2 separate regions of the Homo sapiens genome follow, and region 2 is linked to region 1. The links are contacts of gene promoters, found by promoter capture Hi-C in human tissues and cell types (Jung and others, 2019). All regions are on one chromosome and are shown on one strand. The core of a region is centred on a gene start or on the middle of the fragment in contact, and the rest is flanking DNA. Distances in the headings are between cores, read along the strand shown. Region 1 holds the start of CNTLN (centlein). Region 2 overlaps CNTLN (centlein).

Region 1 (6,153 bases), core at 2,466-4,965:
CTAATACATTTTTTCTCTTTTAAAACAGAAGTTAAAAATAAATTTTAAAAATTAAAGTAAAAGAGGCAATTTAAGTACCATATTAATTGGCACATTTCTTCCATTATTTCCCAAGATTTCGACTATACAGTGATGATATTGAGAGAATTATGTGTTTCTCTATTCTAATATACTTAATCCTCAGCAGACTTCATTATGTATTTCTTCAGAACAGACACTATCACTTTTAAATATTAGGACAAAGAGTTGAACAGGAAAAACACCTTGATTGTTTTGCACATTTTTATTCACATAGCAGTGCAGATATTTAACTTATCCTTCTGAGTCATAAGTGTTTGTATTTAACATTTCATCCGTTTCTGTCATTTCAGCAAATAACTAATACAAGAAAGAACTCCTTATGCATACTTCTAGAAATGTGCACGTTTCTTTTCTTAAAAATTGTCTGCCAGTAAAGAACTTTTATAACTCTACAACAAAAAGACAAATAACCCAATTAAAAAATAGCAAAGAACTTGAATAAATAGATATTTCTCCAAAGAAGAGAAACAAATGTCCAAAAAATACATGAAAATATGCTCATTGTCATTAGTCATGGGGAAAAATACAAATGAAAACCACAAGGAGACAGCACTTTACACCCACTAGACTGGCCATAAAAAACAAACAACAACGCATGCTCTCACTCATAGGTGGGAATTGAACAATGAGAACACTTGGACACAGGGTGGGGAACATTACACACTGGGGCCTGTCATCGGGTGGGGGGAGGAGGGAGGGATAGCATTAGGAGATATACCTAATGTAAATATGAGTTAACGGGTGCAGCACACCAACATGGCACATTTATACCTATGTAACAAACCTGCACGTTGTGCACATGTACCCTAGAACTTAAAGTATAATTTAAAAAAAGCAAATGACACAAAACTAAAACAAAAAATAAGTGTTGGTGAGGATGATGAGAAATTAGAATGCTAATACATTGCTTATGGGAAGGTAAAATGACACAACCACTGTGGAAAAGAGTTTGGTGATTCCTCAGTAAATTAAACATATGACCTAGACATTCTACTCATAGGTATATAAACAAAAAATTGAACATAAATGTTCAGACAAAAACCTGTACGTGAATGTTTATAGCAGCTCTGTTCACAATAGGCAAAAGGCAGAAAGAACCCAAAGGTCCATTAACAGATGAATGGATAAACAAAATGGAGGATATCCATACAATGGTATATTTTCAGCTATAAAAAAGAATGAAGTACTAATACATGCCATAACATAGATGAACCTTGAAAACATTATGCTAATAAAAGAAAACAGACACAAAAGGCCACATATTATATGGTTCCATTGATATGAAATATCCCAAACAGGCAAAACCGTAGAGACATAAAGGGAATTAATGGTTGCTTGGGGCTCGGGGGCAGTGAGAATGTGGAGAGACTAATGTGGGTATGTGGTTTCCGCCTCCGGTGATGAAAATATTCTGGAACCAGATAGTGGTGGTGGTTGCCTAACATGGTGAATGTAGTTAATGCTGCTGAATTGTTTTTTATTTGTAGCCATTTTATTTATTTATTTATTTTTTGAGACAGTCTTGCTTTATCACCCAGGCTGGAGTGCAGTGGTATGATCTTGGCTGTTTGCAACCTCTGCCTCCCGTGTTCCAATGATTCTCCTGCCGTGGCCTCTCTAGTAGCTGGGATTACGGGAATGCACCACCACTCCCAGCTAATTTTTGTATTTTTAGCAGAGACGGGGTTTCACTATGTTGTCCAGGCTGGTCTCGAACTCCTGGTCTCAAGTGATCCACCAGCCTCGGCCTCCCAAAGTGCTGGGATTGCAGTCGTGAGCTACCACGCCTGGCCTATTTGTAGCCATTTAAAATGCCTACGATGGTAAATTTTATGTTGTGTATTTTGTGTATTTTGCTCCAATAAAGACAAAATTTAAAAAAATGCCTAGTCAAAGAGTCAGGATATTATCCTTTTGGGAGGTCACATATACATATTTATACCACTGCTTTTCAAAAGGATCTTTTTATGATCAGGTGAAATGATGTCCTTTTGAGTGAATGACATACAGCAATTAAAAATGTGCATTAATACTGATTTGGGGCCAAACACGTAACTTATGTGGTTAGACTTCCCAGTCTTAAGTCTAGTGAAATCTCACAGACTATCAAGACCAAATGTTGTATTTCAAGTCACAGGTGTGGAGACAGGGTAGCGATCAAAGTACAGGTTTTCAGAGTTAAGTGGAATTCAGTGAATTCAAAGCCTAGCTTTTCTGATACCAGACATGGCACTTCAGAGAAGTTACAGTAACCTTGCAAGTCTGTTTCCTCACTAGTAAAAATGGAGATATATAATAATCTAATTGAAGGTGACATATGTATTAAGTGAGTTCATATATGAAAAGTGCTTAGCACTGGACTCAGCATATGGTAAATGTTCAGTAGGTTAGCTAGTTCTAAGACAGGCTTATAAACATACTTTTTCTAATGTACTCTTTAATAAGTTTTTGTGAGGAATTCACCTTCAGTTTGAAAGAAGTCCACTTATCTTGGTTGCCTTGGCAGGATTCTAATTGGGAGGGTGTCTTTTGGCATCCTGACTAGATTCTCATGCAGAGATGGTGATATTTTGGTTAAATGAAGTTAACAGTAAAGTGGTCATCTCTCTACTTCTGCTCTCAACCCCCATCTCAGCTTTCCCCAAGTATTCTGGAACCCTTTCTGAAGAAGAGGGCAGTTCTAACTTTCAGGGATGTTCTGGTGCCAGCTCAATATGCATCTCATTAATCTTATCAATAGTAACAAAGTATTTGAAGGGCAAAGAAAGATACGATTACTACCTATTTGAAGTTTATAAAGAAAGCCAGAAGAAAAAGAAAAAAAAGAGAACAAAAGATAAAGTAGGTCTTGTTTCTTCATCCACGCTCCAAATTACTGATTTCAAACTGCTCCAAGGACCCAAACTGTTCAGCAATGTGGGCTACACTTCCTCTGATATCCAGCCAACGCATAAAGAAGCTGACATAAAAACTCAAAGGAAATCATGACTCCTGCAAAACAAAAGACAAAGGGTGTACAAAGGATCATCATTCAAGTTGGAAACCTGCTTGATAGTCCCAGATCAGCACAAGGCTTTCCACATCTCCTTGACATTAGTCAGCTGGATGTCAGCTGTACTAAAGCAGTTTTGCCAAGGGGTGTGAAGAAAACACTTAAGTGTAAAACGTATTCCTTGATCCTCAAGGAGCTTACAACAGGGCTGGGGAGATTAGCCGTGTAACTGACACTCCAGGGCGGTCAATGAAACGTGTCACACGAGTTGGCAGGGGCCTTGAAGGAGAGGGATTTCACAGTTAAGGATCATTTGGGGCTGGGGGCTTGTCAAGGAAGGCTTTAAGAGGTGGGATGTAAGTGGCAGGCAGGGCTTTAGGTGGGCGGGAAATCCAGGCGATCCTGGCCAAGGACTCAGGCACAGGACGCTGGGATGGCCTGCCCGGCGGACCGGCCTTACCCTTTCGGGCCACGGCGCGTGCGTACCCCAAGGCTCGCGCTGGGCGCATTGCCCGCGGGAAGCCGGCCAGGACCAGAGAACACGGGACACCGCGGGCCAAGGCGGGAAAAGCCTCGCGCATGCGCGGTTCGGCGTTCCGGGCTCGCCGGGTTGGGGAAAGGGAGGTGGAGTTTCCAACAGGGAACTTGACCCGTTAGCAGCCGCAGCCATGGCGGCGCGTTCGCCTCCCTCACCGCACCCTTCGCCCCCAGCGCGACAGCTGGGCCCCAGGTCCCCACGTGTTGGGCGGGGAGCTGAAGTACACGCAATGCGCAGCGAGGCCTCGGGTTTTGCCGGCGCAGCGCGGGAGGTGGTCGCGGACGAAAGTGATAAAATCTGGGTGGGTGAAGAAGGGTCAGGGGGCCGGCGAGGGCCTGGGGGGGCAGCTCCGGCTCATGCTCCCCTCCTCAGCGCGCCCATGGGGTCCAGACGGCTAGAGGGCATCTCGGTAGAGGAGGCGATGGTGACCCGGACGCAGCTGCTGGAGGAAGAGCTGAGCAGCCTAAAGGAGGAGTTGGCCCTGTGTCAGGTATCGAGGAGTCTCGCAGTCCCCCTTTCCCCACCACAGCGGGGCCGGGACCCGTGGGGAGGCGCGCCTTTCTCCCTCTGCCTTGGGACCTACCCCGCCCAGCGACGCTCCCTGGCAGATGCACACCCTGCTTCGCTCGCGGCCGGGGGCTGGAGGGACGCGGCTGCGCCCGGCTCCCCAAACCCGGGCCCCTGCCCCTTTCCGAACTGCGGCCAGACAGGCTTCGCCTCCGCGCCCGGGTTTGGTTTTGGTCACTTGGATACTCGCAGTCGCATCCTCTCCGCTTCCCCCCCAAGCCCAAGTTCTTGGTGGTGACGGTAGCTGATACCTGCCGGGGGCCCAGGAGTGACATGCAGTCCACTAGTTGAAATGAACAGGAAAGTGTAAACACTTCGGTTAGAGTAAAATCCATCGATGAAGGAGCCTGTTTTTAAAATTTCAAACCCACACTTGGCTTTGTTTTTACCCAGTCAAACTTAAGTTGTAAACACAGACGAGTAACGTTTAGAAAGTCTCAGAGCCGGGAACTTAACAATAGATGATGCTTGGTACTTGTTTATTAACCAGCTATGGTAATTCCGCGGTCCTTGAGTGAGAAATCACATTTTCATGTGATCTTGCCAGTGAAAAACATTTGCTAAATCAATTGCATTAAAATTACTTTCCTGTTTGTAGAGTTTTTGTAAGGATGGACTTGACTATACTCATGTTCAAAGAGATTGAATTTTCCTTTAGTTTTGCATCCTTACCATCATCTCTTTTGATTTTACCAGAACCTTTAGATAGGGTTGGGAGATTGGATGTGGGAAACTCACTGAACAGTAGATCTTTAAGTCACTCTGTCTTCAACTTAGAAACCAATTAGGAGCTGCTGAACATCAAAGTAACTTTGTGAACAGTATCATCAGTTTAATAAAACAGTTCATGAAATTCATTCTCTGTCGCCCAGGCTGGAGTGCAGTGGTGCAGTCTCAGCTCACTGCAAGCTCCGCCTCCCGGGTTCACGCCATTCTCCAGCCTCAGCCTCCCGAATAGCTGGGACTACAGGTGTCCGCCACCACGCCTGGCTAATTTTTTGTATTTTTAGTAGAGATGGGGTTTCACCGTGTTAGCCAGGACAGTCTCGATCTCCTGACCTCGTGGTCCGCCAGCCTTGGCCTTCCAAAGTGCTGGGATTACAGAAATTCATTCTCTCATAGTTTGTTCTGTTGGATTCTTTTGCCCATTTTATAGGTCCTTGCTGACTGAGTGAAGGGTGTAAAAATGGGACCATCTTCAAATTGAATGTGCCTTTGGTTAAACAAGGTTGGGACATTTAATATGGTGCCCTCTTTTCGTTTTACCATTTTTCTGTTCTTCGTTGGATAAGGAGCAAAGGGATAAATAAATGACAACAATGAATTGAAGCATTTGTCATCTGCAGACCTCACCCTTTGGGGAGTTTTAAGATGTGAACCCATGATAAAGGCCTTTGATACTCTGAGTCCTAATCTAAGACACTCTTTGGCATATTTTCCGCACTCTTTCCTCCCACTTCTGCCTCCCCACATAGTTAGGCCTTTAGCTGGCTAAAGAGCTAAGATACTTTTTTATGACCGACTTGGTTAAGGAAGTCAGTCTATTGGAAACAGCCTGATGAACCTCTTCCCACAAATACTTACATTCTTTAAAAATGTGGCTCCAAACATGGTGTTGGCTTTTGTGACCTCGGACATATATAGACTAGGAAAATGATTGACATACTCTTGGCAAATGTAAGAATACAGAGATGGTCATAATAGTCTAGAATGATGATCTCTTAGATTTTGTAATATTAATACTCTTATATAATTGTAGGCAGTATCCCGCACCATAAAAATCTTAGTCAAATCAGACTCCTGCTCTTCGGGAATCTTGGGGAAAAATAGTAATTGAACTCCCAATTGTTTTGTAAAAAGCATTTAGGTGATTAAATATTCACTTTTATATCTTTTAAAGTATACTCTCCCGCTTATTTATTCAGCTAGAGATCACAGTACCCAAGAATACATAGCATTAAAACTGCTGAAAATT
Region 2 (6,153 bases), core at 2,428-4,927, 43 kb after region 1:
TGCCAAACCGTTTGTCAGAGTGTCTATACCATTTTACATTTTATCCAGCAATGTGTGAGAGTGATTTGGTTTATCTGCTTCTTCACCAGTATTTGGTGTCACTATGTTTTCTTTTAGCCATTCTGCTGATGTATAGTTATACCTCATTGAAGTTTTAATTTGCATTTCTCATGGTTAATGATGTTGAACATCTTTTCCTGTATTCATTTGCCATCTGAATGTCCTCTTCGATGAGGACATGTCTTTTGCCCATTTCCTATTTGGATTTCAAAAAATTACTGTTGAGTTTTCAAAGTTCTTTTCATATCCCAGATACTGGTCTTTTGTCAACTATGTGGTTTGCAAATATTGTCTCCCAGTCTATAGCTTGTGTTTCATCCTCTTAACAAGGTCTTTTGTAGAACAAAATTTAAAATTTTGATGAAGTCCAATTTTAATTTTTTCTTCAATGGGTATGTTTTTGGCGTCAAATTGAGATTTTGTTTTTGCCTAGCTCTAGAGACCAAAGATTTTCTCTTATTTTTTTTCCTAAAAGTTTTATAGTTTTATGTTTTGTACTTAAGTTCACAATCCATTTTGAGTTACTATTTGTTTAAGAAGAGATTTAAGGAGGTCAAGTTTCTTTTCTTTTTTTGCCTGTGGATGTCTAATTCTTCTAGCACAATTTGTTAAAAGTATCGTCCTCTTCCCATTGAACTATTTTGCATCTTTGTCTAAAATCACTTGGGTATATTTGCATGGTTGTATTTCTTGGTTCTTCATTCTGTTCTATTGATCTATAGGTCTGTTTTCTGTCAATACCATACCATCTTGATTACTATAGCTATATAATGCATCTTAAAATCTGCTAGAATGATTTCTCCTGCTTTTTCTTCCTTTTCAAAATTGTTTTAGATATTTCAGTCCTGTGCTTTTCCATGAAGTTTAGAAGACTCTTGTCTCTATTTTTTAAAAATCTTGTTCAGGTTTTGAGTTGAACCTAGATATCAATTTGGGGGAGAATTGTTGACTCCTAATCCATGGACATAAGATGTCTCTCCATTTATTTAGATCTTCTTTGATTGCTTTCACTACCATTTTGTAGTTTTCAGCATGCAAGTCCTATATATTGTTAGATTTACACCTATGTATTTAAACTTTTTGGTATGATGGTAAATGATACTGTATTTTTATGTTTAGTGTCCGTGTTTGCATTACTAATATATAGAATAAGGATTTCCGTGTGCACTTATTATTTCTAAGATTTTATTTTTTTAATGATCCCTTGATTTTTCTACATAATCATGTTAATTATCTATTGTAATTATCTATTGTAATTGTAAGCAAGTGGAGTTTTATTTCTTCCTTTCTGATATGTGTGCCTTTTATTTTATTTTATTTTCCCTTATTGTGTTGGCTATATTTTCCAGTACTATGTTGAGTAAGAGTGGTGAGAGTGGCCATCATTGCCCTGCTCCTATTTTAGAGAGAAATCAGTCTTTCACTAAATGGTCCCTGCAAGTTTTTTGTAAATTTTTTTTTTATCAAGTTGAGGAAATTTTCTGTTCCTAGATTGCTGATAATTTTTTTTTTATCATGAATGGGCATTTGATTCCATGAAATGCTTGTACTGCATCACTTGATATGACCAGGAGATTTTTCTTCTTCAGACTGTTGATATGGTGGAATACATGGATTTATTTTTGAATACTGAACCAGCTTTGCCTACTGGAATAAATTTCACTTGGTCGTGGAGTACAATTATACATTGCTAAATACTATTTGCTAATGTTTTGTTAAGGATTGATTGCATCTCTAATCATGAGGGATATTGGTGTATAGCTTTCTTTTATTGTACTATCTTTGGTTTTTATATCAGAGATAAGTAGCTTCATAAAATGAATCAGGAAGTGGTGCTTTCTCTTCTGTTTTCTGGAACAAATTGTGTAGAGTTGATGTTATTCTTCTTCAAATATTTGGTGGAATTCTTTAGTAAATTATCTGAACCTGGAGGGTTCTTTTCTGGGAGTTTCCAAATTGCCAATTCGCTTTCCTTAATAGTTATAGGATTGTTCAGTTATCTATTTCATGTTGGTGAAGTGTGGTAGTTTGTGCATCTTGAGGAACTGGTTTTTCTAAGTTGTCAAATTTATGTGTATAGCGTTGTTCACAGTTTTTTCTTGTTATGGTTTTATGTCTGCAGTGTCTGTTGATAATCCTGTTTCTTGATATTGATAACAGATGTGTCTTTTCCCTATTTTTTTCCCTTGTCAGTCTGCTAGAAGTTTTTGCAAAGTATTGCACTTCCAAAAAGTTCTTAGTTTCATTGATTTTCTCTATTATTTTTCTGTTTTCTATTATGTTGATTTCTGCTTTTTATTATTTCCTTTTTGTTGTTATCTCTGTCAATAATTTTCAGTTTCTTGGCTGGGCGCGGTGGCTCACGCCTGTAATCCCAGCACTTTGGGAGGCTGAGGCAGGCAGATCACGAGGTCAGGAGACCGAGACTATCTTGGCTAACATGGTGAAACCCCGTCTCTACTAAAAATACAAAAAATTAGCCTGGCGTGGTGGCAGGCACCTGTAGTCCCAGCTGCTCTGGAGGCTGAGGTAGGAGAATGGCGTGAACCCGGGAGGCGGAGCTTGCAGTGAGCTGAGATTGTGCCACTGCACTCCAGCCTGGGCGACAGAACAAGACTCTGTCTCAAAAAAAAAAAAATTATTTTCAGTTTCTTGAAGTGGAAATGTGTCCGGAATTGGTGGGTTCTTCGTCTCACTGACTTCAACAAAGAAGCTGCGGACCCTTGTGGTGAGTGTCACAGTTCTTAAAGGCGGTGTGTCCGAAGTTTGTTCCTTCTGATGGTCGGATATGTTCGGAGTTTCTTCCTTCTGGTGGGTTCGTGGTCTCACTGGCTCAGGAGTGAAGCTGCAGACCTTTGCGGTGAGTGTTACAGCTCTTAAGGCAGCACATCCGGAGTTGTTCGTTCCTCCCAGTGGGTTTGTGGTCTCGATGGCTTCAGGACTGAAGCTGCAGACCTTCGCGGTGAGTGTTACAGCTCATAAAGGCAGTGTGGACCCAAAGAGTGAGCAGCAGCGAGATTTATTGCAAAGAGCGAAAGAACAAAGCTTCCACAGTATGGAAGGGGACCTGAATGGGTTGCCACTGCTGGCTCAGGCAGCGGTGCTTTTATTCTCTTATCTGGCCCCACCCACATCCTGCTGATTGGTCCATTTTGACAGGGTGCTGATTGGTGCATTTACAATCCCTGAGCTAGACACAAAAGTTCTCCACATCCCCACTAGATTAGCTAGATATAGAGTGTTGATTGGTGCATTCACAAACCCTGAGCTACACACAGGGTGCTGATTGGTGTGTTTACAAACCTTGAGCTAGATACAGAGTGCTGATTGGTGTATTTACAATATCTTAGCTAGACATAAAGGTTCTCCCAGTTCCCACCAGATTAACTAGATACGGAGTGTCGATTGGTGCATTCACAAGCACTGAGCTAGACACAGGGTGCTGATTGGTATGTTTACAAACCTTGAGCTAGATTCAGAGTGCTGATTGGTATATTTACAATCCCTTAGCTAGACATAAAGGTTCTCCAATTCCCCACCAGACTCAGGAGCCCAGCTGGCTTCACCCAGTGGATCCCGCACCCGGGCCGCAGGTGGAGCTGCCTGCTAGTCCCGTGCCCTGTGCCCGCACTCCTCAGCCCTTGGGCGGTAGATGGGACTGGGCGCCCTGGAATAGGGAGTGGTGCTGGTTAGGGAGGCTCGGGCTGCCCGGGATCCCACAGCAGGGCGGGGGCGGGGGGTGCATGGGGGACTCAGGCATGGCGAATTGCAGGTCTGGAGCCCTGCCCCACAGGGAGGCAGCTAAGGCCCGGTGAGAAATCGAGCACAGCAGCTGCTGGCCCAGGTGCTAAGCCCCTCACTGCCCGGGGCCTGCCGGCTGGCCGGCCGCTCCAAGTGCGGGGACCACCGAGCCCACACCCACCCGGAATTCACGCTGGCCCACAAGGGTTGCGGGCAGCCCCAGTTCCTGCCAGCGTCTCTCCCTCCACACCTGCCTTCAAGCTGAGGGAGTCAGCTCTGGCCTTGGCCAGCCCAGCAAGGGCTCCCACAGTGCAGCGGTGGGCTGAAGGGCTCCTGAAGCGTGGCCAGAGTGGGCGCCAAGGCCGAGGAGGCGCCGAGAGCGAGGGAGGGCTGTGAGAGCTGCCAGCACGCTGTCACCTCTCAGAAGTGTAGATTATTGGCCGGGCGCGGTGGCTCACGCCTGTAATCCCAGCACTTTGGGAGGCCGAGGCGGGCGGATCACGAGGTCAGGAGATCGAGACCATCCCGGCTAAAACGGTGAAACCCCGTCTCTACTAAAAATACAAAAAATTAGCCGGGCGTAGTGGCGGGCGCCTGTAGTCCCAGCTACTTGGGAGGCTGAGGCAGGAGAATGGCGTGAACCCGGGAGGCGGAGCTTGCAGTGAGCCGAGATCCCGCCACTGCACTCCAGCCTGGGCGACAGAGCGAGACTCCGTCTCAAAAAAAAAAAAAAAAAAAAGAAGAAGTGTAGATTATTGATTTGAGATTTTTCCTGTTTTGTAACGTACACCTTTAATTTTATAAATTTTCCTCTCAGCTGCTTTAACTTCATCCCCCATATTTTGATATGCTGCCTTTTTATTTTTATTCAGTTCTATGTATTTTTAACTTTCCTGTGAGACTCTCTGTATGACCAAGGATTATGTAGAAATGTGTTATTTAATTTTCAAGTGTTTGGCGATTTTTCCTTTGCCAGATTTTTAGTTTGATTTCATATGGTCAGAGAATGTACTCTGTGATTTAAATTCTTTAAATTTGACAAGGTTTGTTTTGTGGCCCAAAGTATGGTTTATCTTTGTATAAATCTATGGGCATTTGAAAATAATATATATTTTGCTGATGTTGGTGGATTGTTCCATAAATATTGATTAGATCCTATAGGTTGATTTTGTTGCTGAGCTCTTCTGTACCTTTGATAATTCACTGGCTAGTTCTATACATTGTTGAGAGAGGCATTTTGAAGTTGCCAAACATAATTATTGATTTATCTATTACTCTTTTCAGTTCTATCAGTTTTTTTTCTGTATATTATTTTGAGCTCTAAAGTCTAAAGTTGGTACGTACACATTTAGGATCACTACGTCTTCTTGGTAGATTCTTTTATCATTGTATAATGTCCCTTACTTTCCCTAGTAATTTTCTTTGCTCTGAAGTACACTTTATTCAATGTTAATATAACCACTCTTCTTTCTTTTGAAGAATGATTACATATCTTTTTTCCTTCCTTTTACTTTCAACTTACCTATATTGCCATATTTGAAATGAGTTTCTTTTAGTTACTATATAGTTGCATCATATTTTAAAATCTACTCTGTTGAGCACTTTTGATTTGTATATTTTAGATTATTTACATTCAGCTTGATTATTGATATGTTAGCATTTACGTGTGTCATTTTGCTTTTTTTTCTGTTTGCTATCTCTGTTTTTTTTTTTTTCCTGCCTTCCTGTTGGCTATTGGAACGCATTTTAGAATTTCATTTTGATTTATCTGTATTGGTTTTGGTGGTATCTCTTTGTATATATCTTTAGTGGTTGCTCTAATTATTATATTATATTATATTATATTATATTATATATACATAACTTAGCACAGTGTACTGGTATCAATATTTTACTACTTTAAGTGACATTTATAATAGAAACCTTTCTCTCTATTTTCCTTTTCTTTCCCCTATATAATATAGTTGCCATGAATATTTTTTGACCCACATTTAGAACCACATAAGATATTATTATACTTTTTGTTTCAGCCATCAAACCTAATTTAGAAAACTGAAGAAGACAAGGAAAGTCTGTTGTATTTATGCAGATTTTTGCCTTTACTCTTTTCCTTCTTCCTTCTTGATGTTCCAGGATCCCTCCATTTAAAATTTCTTTTCTATTTAGAAAACTTACTTTAGCTATACTTTTTTGTTTGGTCTCATGACAACCAATTCCTAGATTTCCCCCCTCCTATTTTTTAAGAATGTCTTGATTTCCTTTAATTCCTAAAAATTATTTTCACTGGTTATATTATAGAATTGTGCGTTGATTCTTTTCTTTTCTTTCGGTATTTGAAAAATGCCATGCCCC

What was found. Contacts are between HindIII fragments. The study calls those that stand out against the background at their distance.
Region 2: a contact is called between a fragment that was not itself captured here and the fragment with the promoter of CNTLN in region 1, in 4 of the 25 tissues and cell types used here (aorta, lymphoblastoid cells, pancreas and 1 more).

Annotation. Positions count from the first base shown.
Region 1 is chr9:17,131,325-17,137,477 of GRCh38, forward strand. CNTLN (centlein) reads left to right here and starts at 3,716. Exons shown (of 26, transcript NM_017738.4): 1 at 3,716-4,101. The coding sequence starts at 3,742. RefSeq lists an enhancer at 3,997-4,560. The HindIII fragment of the contact is 19,584 bases long and covers 1-6,153 here.
Region 2 is chr9:17,174,724-17,180,876 of GRCh38, forward strand. All of the region lies in intron 2 of CNTLN (centlein), which reads left to right. Among named protein-coding and RNA genes, the nearest start is that of CNTLN, 43 kb to the left of the region's middle. The HindIII fragment of the contact is 6,020 bases long and covers 668-6,153 here.